Linked DNA regions of Homo sapiens: regions 2, 3, 4, 5, 6 and 7 are each linked to region 1. The links are contacts of gene promoters, found by promoter capture Hi-C in human tissues and cell types (Jung and others, 2019). All regions are on one chromosome and are shown on one strand. Each heading gives the region's core, a stretch centred on a gene start or on the middle of the fragment in contact. The rest is flanking DNA. Distances are from core to core; before and after follow the strand shown. Region 1 holds the start of INHBA (inhibin subunit beta A). Region 2 overlaps SUGCT (succinyl-CoA:glutarate-CoA transferase). Region 3 overlaps SUGCT (succinyl-CoA:glutarate-CoA transferase). Region 4 overlaps SUGCT (succinyl-CoA:glutarate-CoA transferase). Region 5 has its middle 73 kb from the start of LINC01450. Region 6 has its middle 49 kb from the start of LINC01450. Region 7 has its middle 25 kb from the start of LINC01449.

What was found. Contacts are between HindIII fragments. The study calls those that stand out against the background at their distance.
Region 2: a contact is called between a fragment that was not itself captured here and the fragment with the promoter of INHBA in region 1, in 2 of the 25 tissues and cell types used here (dorsolateral prefrontal cortex and lymphoblastoid cells).
Region 3: a fragment that was not itself captured here is called in contact with the fragment with the promoter of INHBA in region 1 in 1 of the 25 tissues and cell types used here (lymphoblastoid cells).
Region 4: a fragment that was not itself captured here is called in contact with the fragment with the promoter of INHBA in region 1 in 4 of the 25 tissues and cell types used here (IMR-90 fibroblasts, heart left ventricle, lymphoblastoid cells and 1 more).
Region 5: a fragment that was not itself captured here is called in contact with the fragment with the promoter of INHBA in region 1 in 2 of the 25 tissues and cell types used here (lymphoblastoid cells and mesenchymal stem cells).
Region 6: a fragment that was not itself captured here is called in contact with the fragment with the promoter of INHBA in region 1 in 1 of the 25 tissues and cell types used here (mesenchymal stem cells).
Region 7: a contact is called between a fragment that was not itself captured here and the fragment with the promoter of INHBA in region 1, in 1 of the 25 tissues and cell types used here (lymphoblastoid cells).

What each region holds. Positions count from the first base shown.
Region 1 is chr7:41,701,123-41,705,171 of GRCh38, reverse strand. It overlaps INHBA (inhibin subunit beta A), which reads left to right and starts at 2,082. Exons shown (of 3, transcript NM_002192.4): 1 at 2,082-2,167. The region is part of intron 1 of INHBA-AS1 (INHBA antisense RNA 1); the gene reads right to left. RefSeq lists an enhancer at 1-41. The HindIII fragment of the contact is 9,174 bases long and covers 1-4,049 here.
Region 2 is chr7:40,756,829-40,760,877 of GRCh38, reverse strand. All of the region lies in intron 13 of SUGCT (succinyl-CoA:glutarate-CoA transferase), which reads right to left. Among named protein-coding and RNA genes, the nearest start is that of SUGCT-AS1, 210 kb to the right of the region's middle. The HindIII fragment of the contact is 9,992 bases long and covers 1-4,049 here.
Region 3 is chr7:40,792,279-40,796,327 of GRCh38, reverse strand. All of the region lies in intron 13 of SUGCT (succinyl-CoA:glutarate-CoA transferase), which reads right to left. Among named protein-coding and RNA genes, the nearest start is that of LINC01450, 190 kb to the left of the region's middle. The HindIII fragment of the contact is 4,719 bases long and covers 1-4,049 here.
Region 4 is chr7:40,857,656-40,861,704 of GRCh38, reverse strand. It overlaps SUGCT (succinyl-CoA:glutarate-CoA transferase), which reads right to left. Exons shown (of 14, transcript NM_001193313.2): 14 at 942-1,389. The coding sequence ends at 1,226. LOC105375242 (a long non-coding RNA gene) reads left to right here. Exons shown (of 3, transcript XR_927191.3): 3 at 1,573-3,274. Among named protein-coding and RNA genes, the nearest start is that of LINC01450, 120 kb to the left of the region's middle. The HindIII fragment of the contact is 4,060 bases long and covers 267-4,049 here.
Region 5 is chr7:40,905,052-40,909,100 of GRCh38, reverse strand. It overlaps a transcript of SUGCT not described here. Among named protein-coding and RNA genes, the nearest start is that of LINC01450, 73 kb to the left of the region's middle. The HindIII fragment of the contact is 4,375 bases long and covers 1-3,944 here.
Region 6 is chr7:40,928,796-40,932,844 of GRCh38, reverse strand. It overlaps a transcript of SUGCT not described here. Among named protein-coding and RNA genes, the nearest start is that of LINC01450, 49 kb to the left of the region's middle. The HindIII fragment of the contact is 4,629 bases long and covers 43-4,049 here.
Region 7 is chr7:41,074,953-41,079,001 of GRCh38, reverse strand. No RefSeq gene overlaps it. Among named protein-coding and RNA genes, the nearest start is that of LINC01449, 25 kb to the left of the region's middle. The HindIII fragment of the contact is 9,838 bases long and covers 1-4,049 here.

The sequences.
Region 1 (4,049 bases), core at 833-3,332:
GTCAGGACTGGGCTGACCAGCTTGTGCCCCGGGCCCTTGAGTTCCGCAGGGAAAAGCTGATTCCCAGTCTAGAATATTCCACAGAAGCTATTTTAACCTGCCTGCTTCCTCCACCACCCCCACCTTGATTTGCACCGAGGGAGGAGGCATTGCCACTGTGGTGCAGGTGGTTGCAGAGGGGTTGCAGCACGGCTGGTAGGCTGGCCTGGCAGGTGGGCACTCGGTGGCATCAGATGGCCAGCGGAGTTTCAGAGTCACACTTGTGTTGTGGCTCCTCTGGTCAGAGAGCTGCAGATTCCTGTGACACCCATGTTTAAGAACAGCCACCAGGCTTCTCAGAAATAGTATCACTTATTATTATCTGACAGCTGCACTTGACCCCCACAGGTTCATATCATGGATCCCATTTTATAGATGGGAACACTGAGGCCTGAGTTTACACGGTGAGTGAGCAGAGGAACTGGGATCTGATCTGGGTTTGTTTTGTGCCCCCCACCCCCACCCCACGTCACCTACACACACACACACACACACACACACACACACACACACACACACACTACTTTGTGTGGAGGCGGAGGGGATGTTTTCAGGACACTAGGGTTCATGTGTGGGTCAGGGGTGAGTTTAGATGCCCTGAAGGTCATTGACTCCACTAATTCTCAGCAAAAAGGGTGGAGAAGTTTCTTTCTTATAAAGGGTTTGAGTTCACCCAGTGCTAAGCTGAGGGGCAGGTTTGGAGTTCACCATCATTAATCCTATTTCTGTCTTCGCCACTCAGATTCACTCTCTTCCTCTACAACCTAATGATTTTTTTCCTACTTCATTTCTGCATATGCAGTTCTTAGAATACTCCTTCCCCCCACCCCCATGCAGCTCAGCACCCACACTTTCTCTGTATCTAGCCAAGAGAGACCCTTTTACACAGAAAACTTCTGGTGTCCTAATGGAACCTGCTTAAGCCACACATCAGGAGGCCAGAGCCTCTATATTTTGCTTGTGGGCACAGTGAAAAGTTTATTTTATGCATGTTAAATCCTGCATACAAAACAACATATCTGGTCATATGGCTCTCATTAGCTCCCAATTTTGCACATTTTATCCAACTTGTCATGAGAACTGGGCTTATGCTTCAACTGTAGTCCTTCAAACAACCCTTCACCGTTCTTGTCAGAGGACCCCTTCCTCCTGTGTTATTTACCAGACTTGCCAACACCCCTCCCCCACAAAAAAAGCCTGACCAGCTTTACCCCTATTTCAAGGAGTGTTCACTTCTTTTCATTAATCTGCTGTTATATTTGTAACAATTTAGAAATTATAGGAGTTGAAGTTCTGGTAAAAAAGAATGATGCATGAGGGTTTTTGTTGTTGTTGTTGTTGTGTGTGTGTGTGTGTGTGTGTGTGTTTGGTTAGTTAGAATGAGATTCTAAAGACCTGGGAAGGATACTTATGAAGTTCATTTAAAGAGAATTACTATTTCCAAAGTTCTTGATTTATGAAGCAGGCATTCAATTTCAAGATGTAAAATAATAGTGTAAGTTGGTTGGGGTCGGGGGAGACCATCATCATATGATTATACAGATTTTCCCAATTTTTTTCCTCAATGAAATAGCTTATTTTAAAAATATAAAATTAGAATCCCTATAAAGAACACTACCAATTTTCTTTCCTGAAAGAAACAATAAAATACTTTGTAAATAGAAGCAACTTCATGAAGTAACAGATGTTTTATGTAAAGACATAAAACTGAACCTGAATATAACGAGACGTGTGTGCGAGTAGTAAAAGTTGAAAGTTGGACACACTCATTGAGACATATCTATTTGATTCCAATGTTTTTCTAAAAGGTAGAGTAATCCTAGCCAGAGGTTTCACTGGCTCAGTGCATCACCCAGTAGTGTCTCAGAAGCCAGGAAGGGCTTTCCATTAGATAATGAATTATGAAATGTCTCACACTGGAAAAACCAGTCATCCGCTGATGTCATGCTGATTCCAACCAATCCCAAACAAAGCCCCAGCCCTCCTCTGTTTCAGTGGTACCAATGTGTGGTGTACAAATAAGTAGTACAGTATAAAACTTCACAGTGCCAATACCATGAAGAGGAGCTCAGACAGCTCTTACCACATGATACAAGAGCCGGCTGGTGGAAGAGTGGGGACCAGAAAGGTAATGCTTTTTAACTCTTACTTCTGAGCTCTTTACACATTCAAAGATAGGAAAGCTAGGAGGAATTTTACAACTAATTGGCATTTCCAATGTGCATTGTGATGTGTACCTTTTTATATTATTCAGGCAGGTTAATACAGCTTTTAATAGTCCTAGAGCATGCAAATAGATTATATGTTTATACAAGCCACTCAGCACATATATACAAGTACATATGCCAAAGAGAAAGCTATTTTTAAGAGTTACATTCGCAAACAGTAAATTCAGGGAACACACACATACTCAGATGCAGAGAGAATCCAAATATTGATAAGTTGCACTTATCTAAATGCTGCTATTAGGACTCCTGAGTTGTTTAGAGCCATTAAACTTTTGGTTGTATTTCAGACTTTCTTGTAAAACTTAATTGAACTGCAAAACATTTTGGGTACTGTATATGTGACTCCAAATAGGTGGATGATGTTAAGTATTATAGCACAAAGATTTTTTATAAAACCATTGTAACACAAATGTCCCCTGCCTCCCCCATTCTCTTTCACCATCCCCGTAAAAAATATGAGGCTTTTTAGGCAATGTTGACAAAGTTTTAACAATAATGGTGGAGTAATTGATGTTTCTGGAGCTGAAACCCCAAAGGTGTTAGGTTACTTGTAACAGAAAAAGTCTTACAAATAGTTGTTTTGGAAAAGGGGACAGTATATATAATTCAGAAAGCATTGTTAACCTGTGCAAACTGTAATTATAACTTAGTGTCACAATTTTCTTGCCCTCTTCCCCTTGCACTCAGATCTTATCTTGTAGTAATGATATTTATTAACTCTTTCCACCTAAACTGCATTGCTTGACTGTAATGCTATGAACACACTAGGTGTCAGATATAAGCTGAGTGTATCTTCAGAAACCAAGAGGGCTTATGTGTGGGAAAGAAACCGAGAGGGAAGGAACGCTTTAACAGATGGACCCCTTAAAGATTCTTCTGCAAGATAAAAGCAATAAGACAGAAAATGAAAAAGAGGGGAGGGGGAAGAATTTTTTTTAAGCCTTAGAAAGGCATTGTTAAAAAATTCACATTTTTCTTTTTCTGTGCACACTAAAATCCATGATGATTTCATCTGCACTGTTCCTTTGAGGGAAAAAGAAGCAGTCAAGGAGGCTGTCTATGAATGCACTGGTCGGGACAGGCTTGGGGCAAGCTGAAAAAACTACCACATGACAGAGAAAAATAATTTGCCAATATATTTTAGAGAGTCTTTTCCCATAGGACCAGTTATTCAAGTCATACGAGTGCACTCTTTTTATAAAAGGATGTGGGAAAGGCCAAGAGAATTTTGCATTTTATCTGTGAAGTCCGGCGAGTGGTGGTAGGCTGTAATGTGTGAGAGTGAGTGGGTCCCCGGCAGAAGGGGGCAGCTGAACGCGACGGGGAGAAAGCGCTTCTGGAACTTGGGCTTGTGACAGGCTGCCTGCCCTCTGGTCCTTCAGTGCCCTGCTGCATTTCACAGTTGGGAAGAGTGGAGTGTATTATATGACCCCAAACAAAAGTTCCATTGCGCTCTCCTCAGATTGCCTGCCAGTGTTGATGACCTGAACATTTAAATATGAATGAATTGGGGGAAAGGACCATCTCCCCTGGATCCCATCAGGCCAGAACAATCCTCTGTTACCCCTGAGTCCCTCTTCCCTGACCTCCACTACCTGTCCACTGGACCTCCCTGCACCCTCTGCCCCACCACGTGGCCAGGTGGGCGTTCTACCACCTAGGGCTGTGGCTTGGCTGGGTGGAGGGGCGGTGGGAACACTTTTTCAATCAATTCATCCCTATTGATTGAGACACTGTGTTTGTTTGGGGTTTCTTTTCTCCCCTCCAAAAAAGGAAGAAGGT
Region 2 (4,049 bases), core at 390-2,889, 940 kb after region 1:
TTTAATTATTATAAGTTGCAGTGAGTATTTGGTCTTCCTGTCACAGATAAGAAAGCTGCCACTGAAATACGTGAGACAGCCTGTCAATGATCTCCAAACATAAATTGCAAAACCAGGCTTTGAGCTCAGGTCTCGGTGACTAAGCCTACATGCTCTCCATTCTAGCCTATTTTGTATGCACACCACACATGCATTCTACATGTACACATGAAAACATCATAGAAGTTAATTAATATTTTTATGAATCATATTTTTGTTGTAGCTGAAAATGTATATAGCATGAAATTTACCATTTTGACCATTTTTAAGCGTACACTTTAGTGGCACTAAGTACATTCACATTGTTGTGCAACTATTATGCCATCCATCTCCAGAACTTTGTCATCTTCCCAAAGTGAAACTCTGTATTCTGTAAACACTAACTGGCCATACCCCTCTCCCTCCAGCCCCTGACAATCACTATTCTACTTTCTGTGTCTATGACCTTGACTACTCTAAGTACCTTATATGGAATCACGCAGTATTTGTCACTAATTTACTTTTAAACTTTTCTGGCCATAGTATCAACCACATGCTTGGGGAAGAAAAATCATCTTAACTCTATTATACCAACACAACATTGTTTGCAGTTTAATTAATGCTGCTCTGAGGAATCAGGCTGTAACTTTGAAATAAAACCAGCCCCAGGTCAGCAAGAGGAAATTTGCCCACACAGCACCATGGCCACAGAGATCACTGGAAAGACAAAAATTCTGGGTGATTCCAGGAGGCAGCTTAATATCTTGGGTCTTTTGATGATTGAAATCTGCATATATATCCCAAACATATCTCCTTTATTCCCCTTCCAAACAGCATTTCTGTTAATGTGTGAAAACAGTACAACTAGCGGGAAATGTAGTCCACATGTTTTGGTGCATTTACACTTATATACTCTTGAGAATATTAAAATGGCCTAACAATACATTTTCTGATGGCTGCTGCTGCTTTTTTTTTTAATAGAAACACAATTACAGACTTTGTTAAAAAAACAAAAACAACAACAACAAAAAAACCCACGTAATCCCAAAATAGGTAATCCCAAAACAGGTAATCCCAAAATAGGCTGAATCTAACTTTAAATTCTTAAAATGTAAATATTATTTAAATAAATGTCAACTGATCTTCAAATAAAACATTTAAAATATATCCAGCAGTCTTTAAATTAGAGACTAATGTAAGTAAGGTAAAAAAAAAAACTCAATAGTTGGTTCAACTTCCCTTTTTGGCTCAACTTTAGGAGATAATAGTAAATAGAGAAAAGAGGACAGATTAAAGATACACCCAGAGCTGGGTTTGAATTGCAACACTAACATTGGTTGGTATAGCAACATTAAGCAAATCTCTATTTTCTTATCTGTAAAATGGACATAGTAATATGGTTTACTGAATTGTCCCAGAGAAGAAACAAATGGTGTATATAAAGTATTCATATATATACCATATATAGACAAGTATTAAGCAGATGTTTATTTACTTACATTCCCTCCTCTCAAATTTGAATGCTCCACAGCAATTATGCCATTAAAACCTATTCACAAAATATAGTTAAATGCAGCACAGTGAATTGCATTTTTCCATTAAATTAAAAGGATGAAAAGACTAATCCCATTAGAACAAGAAAACAAGGCACTAGAAGCTGAGGTCAGTTATTTAAGGTCACACATGAACTTGAAGGCCCAGCAACAAAGAGAAAGCAGAATTAGTCTCTGTTGCAGATATTCTTTAAGTCTACGGAGGGTAGTGCTTCTTTAGTTTTTGTGGCTGCAGCATCTTCTTGGTACTTTTATTTGACCACATCCACGCCTCAAATGCCCAAAATGTCCTGCTATTAATTTTTTTCATTTTTAATTTGATTAAAATTTGGTTTTTGCTTAACTGTTTGAAATGCTTACGGCTTCTTGAAATAACCCAGGATTTAGAGCTCTTAGGAACATTTCAAACAGACACAAGGGTTGTAAGCAGATTAGACTAATTGGCAACCCACTCCAAGAGGCACACAGCCCATTCTGACTTACACAATGTTCAGATAAAGGGCAAATTAGGGAAGCATTTCAAGGTCCCTCGGGCCCCCCTTCCTATGTGGTATTAGAACATCTTACTCAAAGGAGGAACACTGAGACATGCTGACTGTTAATGCCATACCCAGATAAAGATATGACAACATGAAGATGTGGTTTCATTAAAGCTGATACATACAGGACAAATAAGATTCGCTCCAGCTGAGGAGAGAAGCAATAAGGCCCACATACCTAGCTCAGTGCCCCCAAATCCTGAAGGTTTGGGGATGATATGAAAAATGGGATATGATACATTTCCTATTGATTATAGTAAGGTATCTGAAGGTTTTTCTTTAACCCCTTTACTACCATTTCTTTATCTCCACCAACATCTTTTTAATATTATCATAACATTGTATGCTTAGTCAAAATTAAACTACAATCATTTTAAATAAAAAGGTGGCTTGCTCCATCTGGCTTAGTAAAGATAAATATTTTATCTAAGTCTTCTTAATCAGAATACTTCTTGACATCTTAAAGACTGATCATTAAAAAAAAAATTCCATGAAATTCAGCCCAATTTATCTCTTCATGCACCAAGAAGTCCCTTCTTGGTAATGCTGAAGGAAAGCAAAGCCACTCCTCTTTGAGAAAGGATTAAAATGACTCCCTGTCCAACCATGAATAAACCCAACCATAAAGCCAAGCAACTCACTCCTAGCTGAAGCCACTTGGAGGCAAAGATAATGTCACTTCTTGATTCTCCAAGTTAACGCCATGATACTGAAGTCCAAACTGGTAGATAATTTTAAAACTTTTGTATTTAGCTATTGTAAGATATTTGTTTTTACTTCTCTAATCAGTTTACATGTCTAATTAAATTTGATTAATTTATTCCCTAAATGCTTATCGTAAAGTCAGTACTTAAAGTTGATCCAGAAAGACTTTTTTGTGCACTCAGTGAAGGTTGGCTGCAGCTAATATACCAGGAACGCAATCAAGAACTGATGAAAATTTCTGATACATCTTCTGACACAATAGCAAAAACGGTATACCATCATTTAGCCTTTTACTCTTCCTGTGGCTTTTTATTTTTCTTTTGATTTCTATATTCAGGTTAACATTCAATGGTCCACTCGGATTATTTAAAACATACCTCTAATCTCAAGGATCATTCTGCATAGAGATACTGGAAAAAATCCCAAAGAATGTATGAGTCCAGTTAAATATTCCCCCAGGAAAATTCTTGAGCATAAATATCACTTCCTAGTAGTGAAAACTTACTCTGCACCCCAGGAATTCATTGATAACTTAGGGCTGATTTGCAATAAGAGTTTCTTGTCTGTTAGACACATTCACTTATCGGGAAGCCCACTAGGGTCTACGTTGATGAGGATATGTTGCAAAAGAACAACTGAGCTCTTGGCAGCTTTCCAAGTCCCAACTAACAGAAATAAGAATTCCCAGAGTATGAAAGCCCAGGTCTCACAAAATATTTCTTCCTCATGCCACAGATAAGCATAGTTGATGGAGATCCCTGAGTTGTATCAGCGACAGTAACTTGGCTCCTGATGCTTCTCTGGTGCCTGATGGAAAGACATTCCTGGGGATGCAATTCACGCCTCCTTTGTTTCCTCCCTGCTCTCCTAGGAAGGAAAATCACTGTGCTATTCATTTCTCACAGAACAGTAACAATGTCTACTACCCCACCTTATTGTTATAGGGACTTCCAGAGAAGACTCCAGGCACTCAATGGCAAGTCACCTGAGAATACACTGATTGATTTCACTCAGTACCCTGCCATGGGTTAAGGATTTAATAACGGTAAAAAAATAATTGAGGACTTTGGGAAGTACCCTAGCTAGTCTATTTGAAAATTCACTTTCCTGCCAACTTTCTCTCATTTTGTTGACAGACTCTAGAAACTTCCTTTCATCTCTTTCCTCTTTTTGCAGCTTAACCTGGTCCCTTAAGGAGTATGCTCTTTCTAGAAGATAGATTATGCACTACGCA
Region 3 (4,049 bases), core at 643-3,142, 910 kb after region 1:
TATCAGTGTTCTCATCCCTTTTGAATACCTTTGCATATAATCACTTGTTTTCATGGATTGATGACTAAATGGGACACCAACACTCAGATCCCCAACCCAATACTCATCTCGTTTCCTACTTCTAGATGCTATTAGACATCTTTTACTGACTATTTAGTGGGCTCAACACACTGTGTGGTTTTTTTTTCCTGAAAGGTATTTGTTGTACACAGACAAACAGAGAAAAGGAAATTCTGAAAGGAAAGAACTTTGAGGTCTAGGATCCAAATGGGTTATTATAAACAATTGAGAGTGTTTAAAAAGAAAGAAAGAAAAAGAAACATTTAAAAGAGGTCAAGAAAGTACCTCCACAGAACCCTTTTCATTTATATTATTTCAAGTAAAAGATCACATATTCAAAATGTTCCTATTAATTTTCATATGCTGCATTCTCTCAGCATGTTTGACCATTTCACTTCATAATGTTTTGGCACAAAAATGTAAATAACATTGCACTTCACCTTCCCAAGTTCCCATAGTCCATTTTCCGTAATAGGGGGAAGAATACACTAACAGTCAGAAACTATGCACATTCTGCTGGTTGAAATCCAAAAGTAGTTTTTTTTTAGTTTTCTGTCACAACTTGTTCTTGGGAGTTTGCTCCTTGCCAACTAGAAACTATGATTTTCAAGAGAATACAAGCCCTCTTAACAATCAGACAGGATTATTATATCTCTGTGTCGATGCGGATTGAAGCCCCACAAAAGCATCAATTTTTGACTTCAGTTCAAGATATGGAACCCCTGCTTTTCTACTTAAGATTTTATTTTTCTTGAAGAACTTCTAGAAGTTCTTTTTCGTGAAGATTTTATTTTGAAGAACTTCTGGAACATTCCTATTTAGCTGTTTTTAGGAGAGAAGCCAACTTTCATTTATTTGGTGAAAGAAGATGGGCTTTAAACACATTTCAATTTGAGGATGGGGTCCTACTGGAAATAGTTTTGCAAGTAGCTATTTACAAAATGTTTCATTGTGGTAATAAAGAGAAAGGGAGTGTGAGGAGAACTGGGTTCTTGTCTTGGCTCTCTGCTAACTACCTCTATGGCTTTGGGGAAGTCATTTTATGTCTAAGCCAGCTTTCTTTCAGTGCACCTCTGGGAAGACAGGGGTATAAGTTATCCTACTCTCAAAGATGCTTGAGCCCACTGGTGTATTATACATCATGCAATTTATTCAAGAAGGAAATCTGTAAGTTTGCTTAACCCAGTGTTTCCCAAGCTTATTTTATCATGTAACTACAATTAGTGTTCTATGGAACATTTACTTTGGGAAGCGCTATTCCAGGTGTATATTTACTCACCAGAAATATATTAGCATATTGAAAAAGATGTTTATTAAAATTCCCATAAATTCTTGTATTATCTGATTGCTCAAAATGTCTGTGGCATGAAATAAAAATTGAAGAATGAAGTTGTTTTTCTTAAGTTTTAAAAAGAACACAAAACTTCTATTTATGGAAATATGGTGGACTAACTATCCTGAAAATATCTTCTCGACGCAGGACATTAAAAAAATGTTAGGATACAGATTTAAAATATTTTAAATGTATGGCTACATTGATAAAAAATAAATAAAAAATCTTTCCGGAAGGCAGGAGGAGAGTGGGGAGGATCCAGTACACACAGCAAATGGTAAAATATTAAATGAGTTCCGAAGCTAGCAGCTTCCCCAGGAGCATCTGTCAATACTTTCTGACTTATAGCTGTGGTATAAATGACCACAGGAAGAACAGAAAACCTAGCTTAAGGGTTGTACAAGATGAGGAGTCATATTTGTGATCCCTCCATAAAGCTGGGCTTCCCAAAATGTTATAACCTCAGTGAAATGGTGAACTATAAATAAAATACATCTCATGGAACAATGGCAAGAACCCTGACACAGCATGGAGGGTGATAAAATAATTTCCTTGAGAATTTAACCATAAGTCAGACCTCATACAGATTTATAGCCTGAATTCACACCACTTTGAGAGTAACAAACATTATAAGGTGAAATGTAGCTAAAAAAGTTGTTAGTTTGAAGTATCATAGGTGTCTATCAGAAACAAACACGAAGGAATATGCTCTTGAGCTGGACCTCAAAGAATTCTGACAGGTAAAGTTCCAAGGAACAAAACATATTAAACATACCTGGAAATAAATTACCATGAACTAGAGAAAGCAAAACAAATAAATGAAAGAATCAGATCCTTAAATAGTTCAGCTATTAGATTATCAAATCCAACATATAAACGTTTTAAAAAGGAAGAATCAAAGTTATAAGAAAAAAAATCACTCTATAAGAATAACATGTGAAAACATAACTTTTAGAAATAAGTAAATCATTAATTTAAAAACTCAATGGAAAGGTTAAACAGTATAGATACAGATGAAGAGACATTTAGCAAACTGCAAACAGCAGATTAGATACAGCTGAAGAGACATTAAGTGAACTGCCAAACAGAACTGAAGATAATAATCAGACTTTAAAAATATGAAAGTTAAAAGACATGAAAGATAAAGTAATCAGGGTTAACATACAGCTAACTGGAGTTCTAGAAGGAGAAAAGAGACTATCAACATTTGAAGAATCTTCCAGAACTGTTGACAGACATGACTTCTCAGATTCAAAAAGTCAAACAAATTATAAACAAGATAATAAAAATATAAATAAATCCATACCTAGATACATCTTACATTTTTAGTAAAACTGCAAAAACAAAACTAACAAGTAAACAATAACAGCAAAAAATAAAGTCCAAGACAAAAATTTAAATTTAAAAGTCGAAGGAGAAAGAGAAAAGATTACCTATGAAGTAACAACAGTTAGAACGCTGACTTCTCAACAGCAAGAATGCAGCCACAAGCATAGATGTTACTAGTCAATGCAAATAGTCTTGTATAATATCCTATAACTATGAAAACAAAGTAAAAAGTATCAGAAGCTGACCAATGAAATGACTAACTAGAGAAAGAATGTCATTAAAATTAAGAGTAATCACTCATCATTTCTGAAGTGCAGTCTCTAGGGACAGGAGTAGTGAGCTTGGCTGACTATTTACCACATCAAAGACGCAAATTCCAATTTTTGTTGCCACCCCTCCATTCCACCTCTTCTGCAAACCCAGAGATGTGTGCCTTAGAAAATCAACCAGAAATTCCATCTAGAATCAAATTTATAAGTATAATGCAGGCAAATCCAGTAACTCATGAAATCTAATTATGGCTTTAAAAATCAGCTAAAACAAGGCATATATGAATGTTGTATGGAGATAGTCTAAGACAATGCGTCCTAAATATGGATATGCATTATAACTATCTAAGGAGTGTTCTTAAATAATACAAATAGCTGGACTGTGCCTGATCTACTGAATAGAATCTCCAGCACAGGAATTTGTACTTTTAAAAGCCTTCCTAAGCAATTCTGATACATGGAAAAATTTGGGAACAACTTGTCTAAGGGAACTCCAACTAGATCTAACCTTGTGCTCCAAAGGCCCAGTACCTGATTCTTATTAGTTCTCAGTCCCATGAAAGCTGACATACTCAAAATCAAACTGTCTTTAAAACTAATATGGGTACCAAATTACCACTCCTTAATGTATACTGCTGTCACATGAAGCACTGCTATTCGTGTTCCCATGATTGGCCCATTCTCCACCTACAGTCAACTACATGGAAGCATTATTTCAAGAAGAGACTTTGTTTGCATCAGAAACCATTGTCACATGGACCAGATAGCTACAAGTCCAGCATATTTCATCAGCATATTTTCTTCATGGCAATTAATAGGTTGCTGGTCAATACGGAATCAGAACAAGGGAGTAAGACAAATTGGAGATCCCTTGAAATATCCTTCTCATCAAAGGAATGGTTTTTAACACAAGACCAGAAAATGTAGGGCTTTTGACAATAACCCTGTGAGCAATGTAATCTACCTTAGTATCCTCTTGATAATGGAACTCTGAGTATGTGAACAAGATTGGGATGTGCACAGATGACACTGCTCCCATAAAACTCCTTAATTAACTG
Region 4 (4,049 bases), core at 1,047-3,546, 840 kb after region 1:
TCATTCTAGAAACATCTTAGGCCTTACAGCATAGATTAATGACTCAAATCATTCTAATAAAGAAGAATATGAAAAGAAAATGAGTTTTAAATCACAGTTTGAAAGATGAACATCTGTAATTCAGCTTTCAATTACCATTTGGTGTGTAATGACATTAAAATAGATGTGCCTAACAGCCAGGAGTTGAGGTCATCTGATTCCCCAGACTATACCTGGGCTTAGCAGTCTTGAGCAACAATTTATCCTGGAACATACGTCCTAATCATTTCTCACCTACTGGACACAGGTGTTTTTTATACTTTATATCCATTGAAATACTCAATGCTAAGGCATGATCTAGTCTTCAACAGTGGATGCTCAGATTACAAAGCAATGTCTTCCTGTCATTCTTTTATCTGTCATGATGTATAAATTATTTAACACCTGGATAGTCATTTAAGAACCTGTTTAATTCATTTAAAAACCCTGTTGCATTTTCACTTGGCTCAAAATAAGGTACCAAGTGTAAAACCACTTCTCACCTACCTGTGCAGACAGATACCTACATCTCTAAATGCACTGGGAATATTGACTTTCTGCCACATAGCATAAAATCACCAGAGAAATACAACATAAAGCAAATATTTACCCCCACAGGGGAGAATGGAGCTCAGTTTTATAATGGACATCCGCAAAGTCTATGGTTTAAATTAGAGACTAACAAAGGGTTCAAGAGCTCAGAATTAAGTTATTCTGTATAAAATCAATCACAGAGACTGTCATTCTGCTTATTGCTTTGACTCCCTAACACAAATTTAAATGCAGATTTTATGTACAAGTAGAAAGTATCAAGAGAGCTGCTCTTTTTCAGGCCTGTATGGACGGGGCGGGGGGTCTGGTGAGGGCATGGGGGGTAAGGGGCAAACGTTTAGGACATTAATGTAAGTAGAATAAGGAGTGCATTTTTCCAGGAAAAAAATTAAAACTTTATTTTTAAAAATCCCACAAATCCATAATGAAATCATCATCTGAAAAAAAAGATGGTAGGGAACAAAACGTGGGATACATTTAAAAGGCACTAGATTCATTAATACCAGAGCCATTCTGGAGATGCCATGTAAGAAATCTGGAGTTACTCTAAATCTTCTTTTTAGTGGTATCAGAACTGGGGAGAAGGGTCCAAGCAAAGTGTTGCCTTTGCCAGTGTATTCGGATCGAGGTTATGAGGAAGAGCCCTTTTCCTTTGTCAGTGAGTTTCATGTTGGTCCACCACTCCAGCGCTGAGCAGCTCCCCGATGGCCCTGTCATCGTATCTCAGGACCTCCTTCAGGATGTGCGTTGTGTGCTGCCCGAGCAGCGGGGGCGGCCTGGCCTCTGACATCTTGAACTTACTGTATCTCACAGCTGGGCCTGCCAAAGGAGAAGGAAAGCAGGAAGCCTGTTAATGACTAACCCTACGAAATTAATTACCTAAGCAGCCTGGGGTGTTTTCCATGAATGCCAAAAATATCAATGAGTGCCAGTTACACCCTTCCAGATGCATCAACGTTTTGGAAATAAACGTGTTTTCACATGTGGCTTTTCTTGACTCAGGTTCATCCAAATGTGCAGTGCTCATCTGACTCGCTCATCACCATGCAGTGGGGCTGCATGGATGAAGCTAATTTGTGCCGGGCCTATTTGGAAGCTGGTGTTCCCGTCATGAAGACTCAGAGGTAGGGCACTCAACTGAGTGAACTCTAGGTAGGAAAGAACAGTGACCACAGAAACGTAGTGTCTCTCTGAAGCTGGAAATTTGATCCCAGGTGAAAGCAACCCAGCAGCTGACTACTCAATGTCTACTGTGTAGTTCCAAGGTTTAGTTCAACTGACTGCAGATCACCGAAACCTCAGCTAGACCCTGGTTCAAGGCTTTTGGTGGTAGAAGAAGTTATGTGTGCAGGCTTCACTGTCAGAGAGACTTAGGCTTTGCTCTCCGCTCTTATGCTCTCTAGCAGAGCCATCTTGGATGAATTGCTGAACTTCACACCATAATCTGGATGTGATAATGTTTACTATACAGACTTCAGGTAAGGATTTAATTGAGATCATAGACAGAAAGCACTAAGTAAGCATTCCCTAACCCATGCTAATGCACAAAACTTGTTGGTTACTATGATTACAAAAGCTGCCACAACATCTCTCTTGAAGCTTATAGTGTAAGGGGAAAAGGGGTGCCGGGCACAAAGTTCCTCTAAACAGAGTTGAGCAATGCTTTTAAGAACTGTTGGAAATAGATTTTACTATCCCCATTCTTCCCATGAGGACATGAAAACCCCTAAAACCTAAAGTTTTGCTCAAGGCCACATAGCTAATCATAGGGCCTGGATGAAAATCTGTGTCCGCTGGAACTGTCTCCCATTAAAGGCCATGAACTTTCCATAACATCAGCAGCCACTTCTGACTTCTCACTCTTCCACGGAGAGGCTGGACACTGGGGAACATGTTGTTTCAACTAATTTTACCTTTGTTATCACATTCAGTAAGTGGTATTTATGTTGGCTGTCCTTTATGTCTCATTTGATTAGGCTTCAGGAGAACAAATGATATAGTAGTCACAAGAAGACTTGATAAAACAGGATATTCCTATCTCAATTTTTTTTTCTGGCTTTCTCTTGATTTGAGGAGCCCATAGGAAGAACAAATAAAACCAAAGCATGAGTGGGTAAAAGAATGCCCATCAGTAAAGCAGCAAACGAGCTTTGAGCTCTTTGGAGAATTCCATTAATAAAAGTACTTTTGCACTTGCCACTGTTGACAGAGATGGAGGACTTGGGTCTCCTAACACCGTCAAGCTGCACCTTTGTGTAACACATCTAATCCACTACAGAGGGACAACTTTCAACTGATGCCTACAGTTTTTCCTTCTCTGAAGCTTAGTGACATTCATCGTTTTCTTCTCACATTTTCTTTTAAATGCCCCAGTGCATGACTACCTTTTCAAGGGTTTGTCCCTTTTCAGTAAGAGAGAAATCAACTATAGCAGACACTGGGAGGCAGGGTCCACAGCTCTCCCAAGAATGACAATAATGTGATGGTTTAGGCATCTGACCCTTACTCATTGCTCTCTCCAACTCTGTTCCATTTTGATATTAATTAAAAACAGTTTTAATCTAAAACCCGTCTATCAAAAGAAGAACTGCTTGAAGCAATATATGCCTCCTGAAGTCAATGTCATGTGACTTTACTCCACTTGAATTACCTGAAGCAAGACAGTAGTAGTAATAGCTATCATAGTCCAGCTACCATTTCTTTTCTTTTTTTTTTTTTTTTTTTTTTTTTTGAGATGGAATTTTGCTCTTGTTGCCCAGGCTGGAGTGCAATGGCATGATCTTGGCTCACCACAACCTCCGCCTCCCAGATTCAAGGAATTCTCCTGCCTCAGCCTCCCCAGTAGCTGGGATTACAGGCATGCACCACCATGCCCGGCTAATTTTGTATTTTTAGTAGAGACGGGGTTTCTCCACGTTGGTCAGGCTGGCCCAGCTACCATTTCTTAAGAACTTGTGATGCGTCAACCACTGCACCAAAGGCTTTATGTATTAATACAACATTGCATACAGTTCTCACAACGGTCCTGTCGTTTGGGTAGACTGTCAGTCATCTTTATTTCCAGATTAGGACATTGAAGGAAATGGAGGTTTAAATGTTAAAGTTAGGATTAAGGTTAGGAAATTAAAATAACTTGCCCAAATTCACACAGCTAGAAAATGATAGAGTTAGATTCCAATTTCACGTCTGTTGGGTTCAACAACTTGGATTAAAAAATAATAATAATTTATTGAGATAAAACTTAACATAACATAAAATTAACCATTTTAAAGTGATCAAGCAGCTTCTCCTCATTCCTCCCAAATCCAGGCAACCATTAATCTACTTTTTGTCCCTATGGATTTATCTATTCTGGCTACTCCTTATAAATAGCATCATATATAATTTGTGACTTTTTGTGTCTGGCTTCTTTCACTTAACATAATATTTTTGAGATTCATCCATATTGTGCATATCAGTACTAAGCGCCTGGACTTTTA
Region 5 (4,049 bases), core at 508-3,007, 800 kb after region 1:
AGTATACATGCATTGTAGAAAAAGCACATCACAATAAAGTGGGGAAAAAACCTTAAATGACCACCCAGAGATAGTCTTGGGGGTATTTTAGAGTATTCCATTCTGAAGATTTTCTTCTGCATATGATGTATCTATGTATACTTTTCAAAAATAAAACCATACCATCCATGGTCATTTAAAAAAATTTAAATATACATACAGAAAAGCGCATGTACACATGTAGAACTCAATAAAATCCATATTACTTTGTAAGTTGTTGTATTTTCTTTACTAAGTCATCATGCTTTTCTACAGCTACAGATATTCCAATGTGTTTAATAGCCACATGGTATTAAATTGTAAGAATCTTCCAAAGTTTATTTAACCAATTCCCTGATTCAATATTACTATGAAAAATCTGGTAGCTATATATTCTGCTGTTAACTATTTTTATATTTTTTATATTATATGGTATTACAAATTCCTAGGTTAAGGAAAAGAAGGGCTGTATCAAAGCCTATGCAAATGTTAAAGCTTATGATATATTTGGCCAAATTGCTCTTTGAATTATTTCTAATGTTGCCTTTCTTTCCTCATACTTTTTAAACATTGTGTGTTATTAATTTTAAAAATATTTCCATTTGATAGAATAAAGTGGTATATTATTAAGTTTTAATTTGTATGTCTTTGATTTCTAGTAAACTTCATCTACTTGTGGTCCTTTTTTTTTTTTTTTTTTGAGACAGAGTCTCGCTCTGTGCCCCAGGTTGGAATGCAGTGGCGTGATCTCAGCTCACTGCAAGCTCCACCTCCCAGGTTCACACCATTCTCCTGCCTCAGCTTCCTGAGTAGCTGGGACTACAGGCACCCGCCACCACGCCCAGCTAATTTTTTGTATTTTTTTTTTAGTAGAGATGGGGTTTCACCGTGTTAGCCAGAATGGTCTCGATCTCCTGACCTCGTGATCCGCCTGCCTCAGCCTCCCAAAGTGCCGGGGTTACAGGTTGCGAGCCACCGCACCCGGCCGGTCCATACTTTTAAATGGCTGTCCTGGTGATGCCTTTCCAATTTTTCTGTTAGGTTGAGGTTGGATGTGAGTATTTTTCTTACCAATCTGCATATACATCTTACAAAAAAAAAACTAGATAATTACTTTTAAACATTGTAAGTAATGAAACTGGATCCTTATTTACTAATGTTTAGAATTAAAAGGTGAGTATTGACTCCCCTCATAAGATAAATAAATTAATAAACTTTTCTTGTTACAATATCTCAATTTTGGTGAGGATGATGTCAAACTTATCTTAGATTACAGCTGTATAATGCAGTGTGTCTCAGGCATTGTCAACGGCCTTGCCTCATCTTTATGCAATTCTGAGTTAAAGATCCCTCCAGAATTAACAGAGTGGTTAAGCGAACAGGCTGTGATGTTAAACAAATCTGGATTCAAGGCCTTTCTGTAACTTGCTAACCATGTGATATTAGGCAATATACTTAATCTCAGTTTCAGTTTTTTCAGCTGTGAAATGGGAAGAGTAATAACACCTACTTCATAGGGTCTTTTGTGAGCGTTAGATGAGGCAATGCATATAAAACCAGTAACAGTTAAATGTTAACTACATTTAGGCACTGCTTTACAAGGCTAGCGCCTGACAGAATGATAACTCAGTAAGTGTTGGCTATATTAAACGAGTATTATTATACCTGTTATTTATGGGCCTTGCCTTGCAATTAGAATCAGGAATTCAAAGCCCAGGAAGGTAAAAACTAGATTACACACCACCCCTTATAGAATTATGTTTCAGGGATGTTGATTTCTGTCTGGGAATATGACACATAACACAGTAGTGGGTGAGCTCAGTCAGGACATTGATACTGCATTTCTGAGCTAAGAAAGAGTTTAGAAGTCAGTGAAGTTCATGATTCTGAGGCAGAAACCCAAGTCCCCACTCAATCTTCTCTCTCTCTCTCTCTCTCTCTCACACACACACACACACACACACACACACACACACACACACACACTATCAGAACAAATATTTCTCCTAACAAGTATAACCTACTTCCATCTTCCTACCCTGAACTGAAGCCCCATCCTATTATGGAGACAAAGAAGCACCAGCTAAGCTCATGACTCTTAACAACAGCACCTCCTTGAGTCTCTGGGAGGCCAGCAATGCTTGAAGGAATGCTCCCTCTCTGGGAAGATTTGTTATTTGGTTTGTCAACTCTAAGTTATAGAGCGTTCTTAAAAATTATAATTCCCATCTATTTCCTATGCAGCAATCAATGTGCTTATTCTACTTCTCCTCTCTCCTTTCTCCCAGTTTTTAAAGTTGTATTATTATATAGGCATGGTATCCATGGGATATCGGTTCCAGGACAACACCTCCCATATCAAATTCCAAGGATGTTCGAGTCCTTTATATAAAACGGCTTAGTATTTGCATATAACCTACGCACATCCTCTTGCATATTTTAAATCACCTCTAGACTACTTATAGTACCTAACACAGTGTAAATGCTGTGTAAACAGTCATTATACTCTATTGTTTTTATTTGTATTTTTTTATTGTTGCATTTAAAAAATATTTTCTATCTGTAGTTGTTTTAATCTGAAGATGTGGAACCCACAGATATGGAGGGCCCACATACTTGTCAGGACAATAAAAAATTACACATTATTTTTCTACCGTTGTTCCTACGTTTATTTTAGTTTGGGATCCATAATTAAATATATCCAAGACTCACTATTAGTCCTTTGGCCAATGTTTCCCCAGTTCTCTCTGATTTGGATGAAGCTTTTCTCCTTGAATAGTTCTGTGGAAAGAAAGTTTCAGAGTACAGGATCACCTGAGTTGTGCATGCTCAATTCTGTTGAGGGATAGCATTGGTTCATAAGCTCCTTGGATCAAATCCTTGAGTTTATCAAAAATGTTCTCCACCACGGTCTTTACTGTTGAGAAGTTTGATGCAAAAAAAAAAACAAAAAACAAAAACAAAAAACAGCTCTGGAAATGGATGGTGATGATGGTTGCACAACAGTATGAATGCAGTTAATACCGCTGAATTATACACTTAAAAATGGTTAAAATGATGGCAGGGTGCAGTGGCTCATGCCTGTAATCCCAGCACTTTGGGAGGCCAAGGCGGAAGTGCAAAGATCACTTGAGGCCAAGAGTTTGAGACCAGCGTGGGCAACATAGTGAGGCCCCATCTCTACAAAAAATTTAAAAATTAGCCAGTGTGGTGGCATGTGCCTGGGGTCCCAACTACTTGGGAGGCTGAGACAGGAAGATCATTTGAGCCCAGGAATTTGAGGCTGCAATGAACTATGATCGCACCACTGCAGTCCTCCAGCCTGAGTAACAAAGTGAGATCCTGCCTCTAAAGAAAAAAAAAAAAGAAAAAAAAAATTTAAAATGGTAAATTTTTTGTCATGTGTATTCTACCACAACAATTTTTTTTCAAGGCACCTATTAGATGCCAGGAAATGTTCTAGACCCTGAGTACACAGTAGTGAATGAGAGAGACCGATATTTGGCCACTGTGAAATTTGCCATTCAGAGGGAAATGTAGAAAATAAATGGCGTTATATGAATGAGACACAGTGCAGTGTAGTGATAAAAAACTTGAACTGGGAGGAAATACATTTCTGTTGTTTTAAAACAAAAAACCTACAAATATCATAATTAATATTAGTTATGCTTGCTCTATTTCCTTTTATCATCTCTTTTCATTAATATTTACTTGTTCTGCTTTTTTGTGAGAAAACATAAATTCTTCAGGTTGTAATCAAAAGAGAGAATGTTTTAAGTCAATGAGAAAATCACTCTTAAGATACACATATTGTTCAGAATCGTCTTCTCACAACCAAGGGTTTCTTGCTGCTTGGAAATGGCAGGTAAGTCATTTTTATGAACCAAATGATTCAAGTAAAAAGATTTACTCAATACGAATAGTTTATTTATTTGTTGGAGATATGTATCAAAGTTCTCAAACAACTATGAGTGATTCCATCACAGAAAATGCTCGAAAATTGTTATCCTATTAGAGGTTTCTTCAGAATT
Region 6 (4,049 bases), core at 1,108-3,607, 770 kb after region 1:
ACCCATCTCATGTGCAGAGACACACATAGGCTCAAAATAAAGGGAGGGAGGAAGATCTACCAAGCAAATGGAAAGCAAAAAAAAAAAAAAAAGCAGAGGTTGCAAACCTAGTCTCTGATAAAGCAGACTTGAAACCAACAAAGATCAAAAGAGACAAAGAAGGCCATTACATAATGGTAAAGGGATCAATGCAACAAGAAGAGCTAACTGTCCTAAATATATACACACCCAATATAGGAGCACCCAGATTCATAAAGCAAGTCCTTAGAGACCTACAAAGAGACTTAGACTCCCACACAATAATAATGGGAGACTTTAACACTCCACTGTCAGTATTAGACGGATCAATGAGACAGAAGGTTAACAAAGATATCCAGGACTTGAACTCAGCTCTGCACCAAGCGGACCTAATAGACAACTACAGAACTCTCCAACCAAAATCAATAGAACATACATTCGTCTCAGCACCGCACTGCACTTATTCCAAAATTGACCACATAGTTGGAAGTAAAGCACTCCTCAGCAAATGTAAAAGAACAAAAATCACAACAAACTGTCTCTCAGGCCACAGAGCAATCAAATTAGAACTCAGGATTAAGAAACTCACTCAAAACGACACAACTACATGGAAACTGAACAACCTGCTCCTGAATGACTACTGGGTAAATAACGAAATGAAGGCAGAAATAAAGATGTTCTTTGAAACCAGTGAGAACAAAGACACAATGTACCAGAATCTCTGAGACACATTTAAAGCAGCGTGTAGAGGGAAATTTATAGCACTAAATGTCCACAAGAGAAAGCAGGAAAGATCTAAAATTGACATCCTAACATTACAATGAAAAGAACTAGAGAAGCAAGAGCAAACACATTCAAAAGCTAGCAGAAGGCAAGAAACAACTAAGATCAGAACAGAACTGAAGGAGATAGAGACACAAAAAAACCCTTCAAAAAATCAATGAATCCAGGAGCTGGTTTTTTGAAAAGATCAACAAAATTGATAGACTGCTAGCAAGACTAATAAGGAATAAAAGAGAGAAGAATCAAATAGATGCAATAAAAAATGATAAAGCAGATATCACCACTGATCCCACAGAAATACAAACCACCATCAGAGAATACTATAAAGACCTCTATGCAAATAAACTAGAAAATCTAGAAGAAATGGATAAATTCCTGGACATGTACACCCTCCCAAGACTAAACCAGGAAGAAGTTGAATCTCTGAATAGACCAATAACAGGCTGTGAAATTGAGGCAATAATTAATAGCCTATCAACCAAAAAAAGTCCAGGACCAGACAGATTTACAGCCGAATTCTAGCAAAACTACAAAGAGGAGATGGTACCATTCCTTCTGAAACTATTCCAATCAATAGAAAAAGAGGGAATCCTTCCTAACTCATTTTATGAGGCCAGCATCATCCTGATACCAAAGCCGGGCAGAGATACAACAAAAAAAGAGAATTTTAGACCAATATCTCTGATGAACATTGATGTGAAAATCCTCAATAAAATACTGGCAAACTGAATCCAGCAGCACATCAAAAAGCTTATCCACCACAATCAAGTCAGTTTTATCCCTGGGATGCAAGGCTGGTTCAACATATGTAAATCAATAAATGTAATCCATCATATAAACAGAACCAATGATAATAACCACATGATTATCTTAATAGATGCAGAAAAGGCCTTTGACAAAATTCAACTGCCCTTCATGCTAAAAACTCTCAATAAAGTAGGTATGGATGGAATGTATCTCAAAACAATAAGAGCTATTTATGACAAACCCACAGCCAGTATCATACTGAATGGCCAAAAACTGGAAGCATTCCCTTTGAAAACTGGCACAAGACAGGGATGCCCTCTCTCACCACTCCTATTCAACAGAGTGTTGGAAGTTCTGGCCTGGGTAATCAGGCAAGAGAAAGAAATAAAGTGCATTCATTTAGGAAAAGAGGAAGTCAAATCGTCCCTGTTTGCAAGTGACATGATTGTATATTTAGAAAACTCCATCATCTCAGCCCAAAATCTCCTTAAGCTGATAAGCAACTTCAGCAAAGTCTCAGGATACAAAATCAATGTGCAAAAATCACAGGCATTCCTATACACCAATAACAGACAAACAGAGAGCCAAATCATGAGTGAGCTCCCATTCACAATTGCTTCAAAGAGAATAAAATATCTAGGAATCCAACTTACAAGGGATGTGAAGGACCTCTTCAAGGAGAACTACAAACCACTGCTCAACAAAATAAAAGAGGACACAAACAAATGGAAGAACACTCCATGCTCATGGATAGGAAGAATCAATATCATGGAAATGGCCATACTGCCCAAGGTAATTTATAGATTCAATGCCATCCCCATCAAGCTACCAATGACTTTCTTCACAGAATTGGAAAAAACTACTTTAAAGTTCATATAGAACCAAAAAAGAGCCTGCATAGCCAAGACAATCCTAAGCAAAAACAACAAAGCTGGAGGCATCACGCTACTTAACTTCAAACAATACTATAAGGCTACAGTAACCAAAACAGCATGGTACTGGTATCAAAACAGATATACAGACCAATGGAACAGAACAGAGGCCTCAGAAATAACACCACTCATCTACAACTGTCTGTTCTTTGACAAACCTGACAAAAACAAGAAATGGGGAAAGGATTCCCTATTTAATAAATGGTGCTGGGAAAACTGGCTAGCCATATGTAGAAAGCTGAAACTGGTACCCTTCTTTACACCTTATACAAAAATTAATTCAAGATGGATTAAAGACTTAAATGTTAGACCTAAAACCATAAAAACACTAGAAGAAAACCTAGGCAATACCATTCAGGACATAGGCATGGGCAAGGACTTCATGACTAAAACACCAAAAGCAATGGCAACAAAAGCCAAAATTGACAAATGGGATCTAATTAAACTAAAGAGCTTCTGCACAGCAAAAGAAACTACCATCAGAGTGAATAGGCAACCTACAGAATGGGAGAAAATTTTTGCAATCTACCCATCTGACAAAGGGCTAATATCCAGAATCTACAAAGAACTTAAACAAATTTACAAGAAAAAACAAACAACCTCATCAAAAAGTGGGTGAAGGATATGAACAGACAGTTCTCAAAAGAAGACATTTATGCAGCCAAGAGACACATGAAAAAATGCTCATCATCACTGGTCATGAGAGAAATGCAAATCAGAACCACAGTGAGATACCATCTCACACCAGTTAGAATGGCAATCATTAAAAAGTCAGGAAACAGATGCTGGAAAGGGTGTGGAGAAATAGTGACACTTTTACACTGTTGGTGGGAGTGTAAATTAGTTCTACCATTGTGGAAGACAGTGAGGCGATTCCTCAAGGATCTAGAACTAGAAATACCATTTGACCCAGCGATCCCATTACTGGGTATATACCCAAAGGGTTATAAATCATGCTTCTATAAAGACACATGCACACGTGTGTTTATTGCGGCATTATTCACAACAGCAAAGACTTGGAACCAACCCAAGTGCCTATCAATGATAGACTGGATTAAGAAAATGTGGCACATATACACCATGGAATACTATGGAGCCATAAAAAAGAATGAGTTCATGTCCCTTGCAGAGACATGGATGAAGCTGGAAACCATCATTCTCAGCAAACTATCACAAGGACAGAAAACCAAACACCGCATGTTCTCACTCATAGGTGGGAATTGAACAATGAGAACAGGGTGGGTAACATCACACACCGGGGCCTGTCAGGGGGTGGCGGGCTGGGGGAAGGATAGCATTAAGAGAAATACCTAACGTAAATGACAAGTTGATGGGTGCAGAAAACCAACATGGCACATGTATACCTATGTAACAAACTTGCACATTGTGCACATGTACCCTAGAACTTAAAGTACAATTTTAGATAGGAAGAAAGAAAGAAAAAGAAAAAGGAAAAAGTAGAGTTTTGCCGGGCAGGGTGGCTCATGCCTGTAATCCCAGCACTTTGGGAGGCCAAGGTGGGCGGAGCACAAGGTCAAGAGATCAAGACCATCCTGGCCAACATGGTGA
Region 7 (4,049 bases), core at 863-3,362, 630 kb after region 1:
AGTACTTTTCCTCTCTGATGCTTCACTGTTGGAAGGTAGTATGGTCATTTCTTTGTATTAGCACACACACGTGCACACACACTCCCTTATAAACGTTATTGGGTATTCCCTACTTGCAACTTTCCCAACCACTGAACTCTGTGAGTCAAGCCTCAATGTTAGGACTTGATTTGTACCCATTCTTTGTATCATCTGCAAAAATTAAGGCATGATTCAGGGAAACCATTACTCAAGAATGCATGAGGGAATAAAGCTTCGAAGCTCCACTAAGTTCTTATTTTTCCCTTTGCACCAAGTACTTTATCAGTTCACACTGACATTGGATTTTCAGAAGGGCTGATTTTATTTCTCTGGGGCCCAACAATAATGGCCGGATTCCTCTCTTACTCTCTCTTTCAGAACCTGGAAAAGAACAATGTAGCTTTCTGGAGGTTTCAGGTGGCAGCCAGTACCTTGCCAGCATGCTTGACACCTGAGTCCTCTAGTGAAGAACACAGTTAACTCCTTTGGAGGCAGCAAGCTAACCAGTGCCTGGAGACGTATGGTGACTTCTTCCCTGCCAGAGAAACCAAGGCCCTCTGCCAGGAACTTGGCCAACCAGTACCAGCTCTCAGGCCTCCCTTCCCAGGGGATGATAAGTGAGCATCCCCAGCTTTGTTGTTTGTCCTGAGTCTAGCGGCAGTCCGAGTTCCTGGGTATCATGGTGTCGGGCACACAGAAAAGGAGAGAACCTGATCGATCGATAGGAGAGACATGATAAAGAGGACAGCATCCTTCTCTGATCTCTTTGCTGATAGGAAATGCAACACAGTGGCACCCAGGTTCTGCTCCAGCAAGTCAGTTCCATACACCAGCTCAGGAAAGGGAGTGCAGAGGCAAAGGGCACACTGCTCTCAGGTTCAGCGAAGTCCAGTTTCATCGCTCTGTGCCATGAAGAGGTGTTTATGCCAGCTGGAGTCATTTTTCCCTGGAGTTCCTGAGGATGCTTGAGATCCCTTCCTTTTTTTTTTCTCTCTCTCTCTCTTTTTTTAAGTTTGTTTAATAATAAAAAAAAAGTAAAAACCTGTATATGGTTTTTTAAGAAAATCAAGCCCAGAAAGTTAGCTATTAAATAACTGTAAGTGCCCCATATTCCAGAACCCAACTTTTATTCTTCAACTGCAGGTAACTACAACCAATAATTTTTTTGTATCCAGAAATAATCAAGTGTGTGTGGTGTTCAGCATGCATACCTATAGCATAGCAATGGTTAACAGTGCAGGATGTGGAGTTAGACTGCCTGGTTTTGAATCCTCATACACCACTTACTAGGACTCTGGGCAAATTACTCTGACTTTCTGGGTCACAGGGCCTGTTGATAATACCTATCTTTTAGAGTTGTTAAGAGTCAATGCATGTAAAGTGTTTAAAATAGTACCTGGCACATAGTAACAATTGAGTAAATGCTGAGTATTATTATTTTATTATTCATATAATTGTTTATGTATAACTGCATTTTAAAACTTATACAAACACAAATTAAGCATGCTGTTTTTAACTTATACTTTTTTCCATCAAATTAAACTGCTATGAGATTTTTCTCATGTAAACACAGATCTGCCTCATTCTTTTTTAAATAGCTTTATATATTTAAAATTATTGTATATACGTATGTTTTAAAAATTCAGCTAGATTCCTATTGGCTGACATTTGGACATTTCCTGTCTTTTTTTTTTTTATAGAAAATGCTTGGAAAATTTTTCTTAATGTATCTTAATAATAAATTTCTGGCAGTGGGATTGCATGGTCAAATAATATGTTTTTTGAATTACTTTTTTATTTTTAGCATTTAAAATTTTAATCTATTTGGAATTATTTTTGATACACTGTAAGGCGAAGATCCCAGCCTTCTTTTTGTGTAGATTAATGGCCAATTAAGCCAATATTATTTATTAAATAAAGGATTTTTCCTCACTGAATTGAAAGCCTATTTTTTATATATTAAATTCTGAATCTGTTTTAAATCTTTATTCTGTTTCAATTATATACATTGTTAATATTGTACACCATTTCCATCAAATCTCAAATTCACCAAATGGTAAACACATTTCAATTTCTATAGGAGTTTTATAGAAATGTGTATTATGGAAATGCAGCATCAATATACAACTCTCATTTCCCCATACTCTCCTCTCAGCTCTGAATATCATTAATGATTTTAAATTATTTTTGCAAATCTACTAGATGGAAAGTCATTTCTTATTTTTTCATTTGAATATTTTAATCTAAAGTAGATTTGAAGAGGTTTTTGCATATTCTTTTGCTATTTGTTTCACTGTTTCTATCAGGTTGTATTTTTTCATATATATGTTTTAAATGTTCTTTCTATTTCAAGTCAACAATGAGTGCTTTAATATTTTTTAAGATTTTGTCTTTTAATTTTATTTTTCATATTTTTACTATATGTTAATTTTAACTTTATTGTTCAGTCGTTTCCTTGATAGGGTCGTGATTTGGATATCTGCTTATAAAGATTTTTTGCACTCCTGTACACACATGTACACACATATTGACACAAACATTTCCTTGTCTTCTAGGTCTTTTGTAAATTTGTTTTTAGGTGTACATATTTTTAAAGAACTGAAATTTATTTTGGTATAAGACCTCACAGGTATTCACAAATATTTCATTTATGTTTCAAATGTCTAACCAGTTGTCAACATTATTTATTGACTATTTTATCTTTTCAATACTGATTTACAATACCAGAATTATTAAGTACTAAAATGCACATTTTTACATAATCTACTCGAGTACAAAAATGTATGGTTATGATAACTTCATGATATGGTCAATGTCCGATTTGACTGACACTATCTTGTTGCTCTTATTCTGCATAATTTTGAGCATTGGATTTTTCCAGATGAAGTTTAATATTACTTTCTTAATTTTCGTAGCAGAAAAAATACAAGCTAAGCTGTGAGCAATTTAGATAAATAAAATTGTATATTTGGGGTGTTAAGATTATTAAAATGAGTAGTCCTGCCTTTTTCTAAACTCTTGCGTCCTCTTTATGGATTTTGCATCTTCTATTCCCTCTGCCTGGAATGCTTTTCCCCCTGGTAGCCACCTGGCTTGCATCCTCACTTCCTTTGGTCAGAACTTTAAATATCACCTGTCACTGAGGTCTTCCCTTACCAGCCCCCGGCCATGCTGTTTAAAAAAACAAAACAAAACAAAACAAAACAAAAAACACCTTTATCCAACTCTTCAGTCCTATCAATCTGTCTTCTTGCTTTACATCTCCCCATAGCACTGAACACCATAACATATGATGTATTTTTTAGTTTGTAGACTGTCTGTCTCCCCTCACTAGGTCCCCCTCCATGAGGCCAGGGACTTTTGTCTATTTTGTTCACTACTCCCTGAGACCTAGAATGGTGTTTTTTATGCAATAGGCCCTCAATAAATATTTTCTGAGTGACTGAATGAATAAATGAAGGAATCTTCAAGATCAAGCATTCCGATCCAAGATATAATCTGGTTTAGCATTTTAGTTTTCTTTCACGTCCTTTATATTAATATATAAGTAGTTTACATTTAAAAGTGTGTCATTCCTATTTTTCTATTGCAGAGGAAACCTGTTTTCCTGGTCTATTTTTTAACTGGATATTGTTTATACAAAGAAAGGGTATCGATTTTTTTATTTTAATTTTGTAACTAGCTTCTGATTAAAGATCATTCTTTCTAATAACTTTTTAGTTAGTTTTCTTCAGTTTTCTAGGTTTTCAAAATTAGGTTACGCAAATAATGATAATTTTTTGCATATGCATTTCAATTATTATACCTTATTTAGAAGTGTTCCTTAATTACATTGCCTGGTATTTGCAGAACAATGTTAACTATAGTAGTTATAAAAGGCATCTTTCGCTTAATCTTTAGTACAAATATTTCTGTGTGTTTCATCATTGTAATAACTTTTTATTTCCTGTTTTGCACATATACAAATATACGCATATATACACACATGCACACAAAATGCCACAGAAGTATCTATTGAATTCTATGTC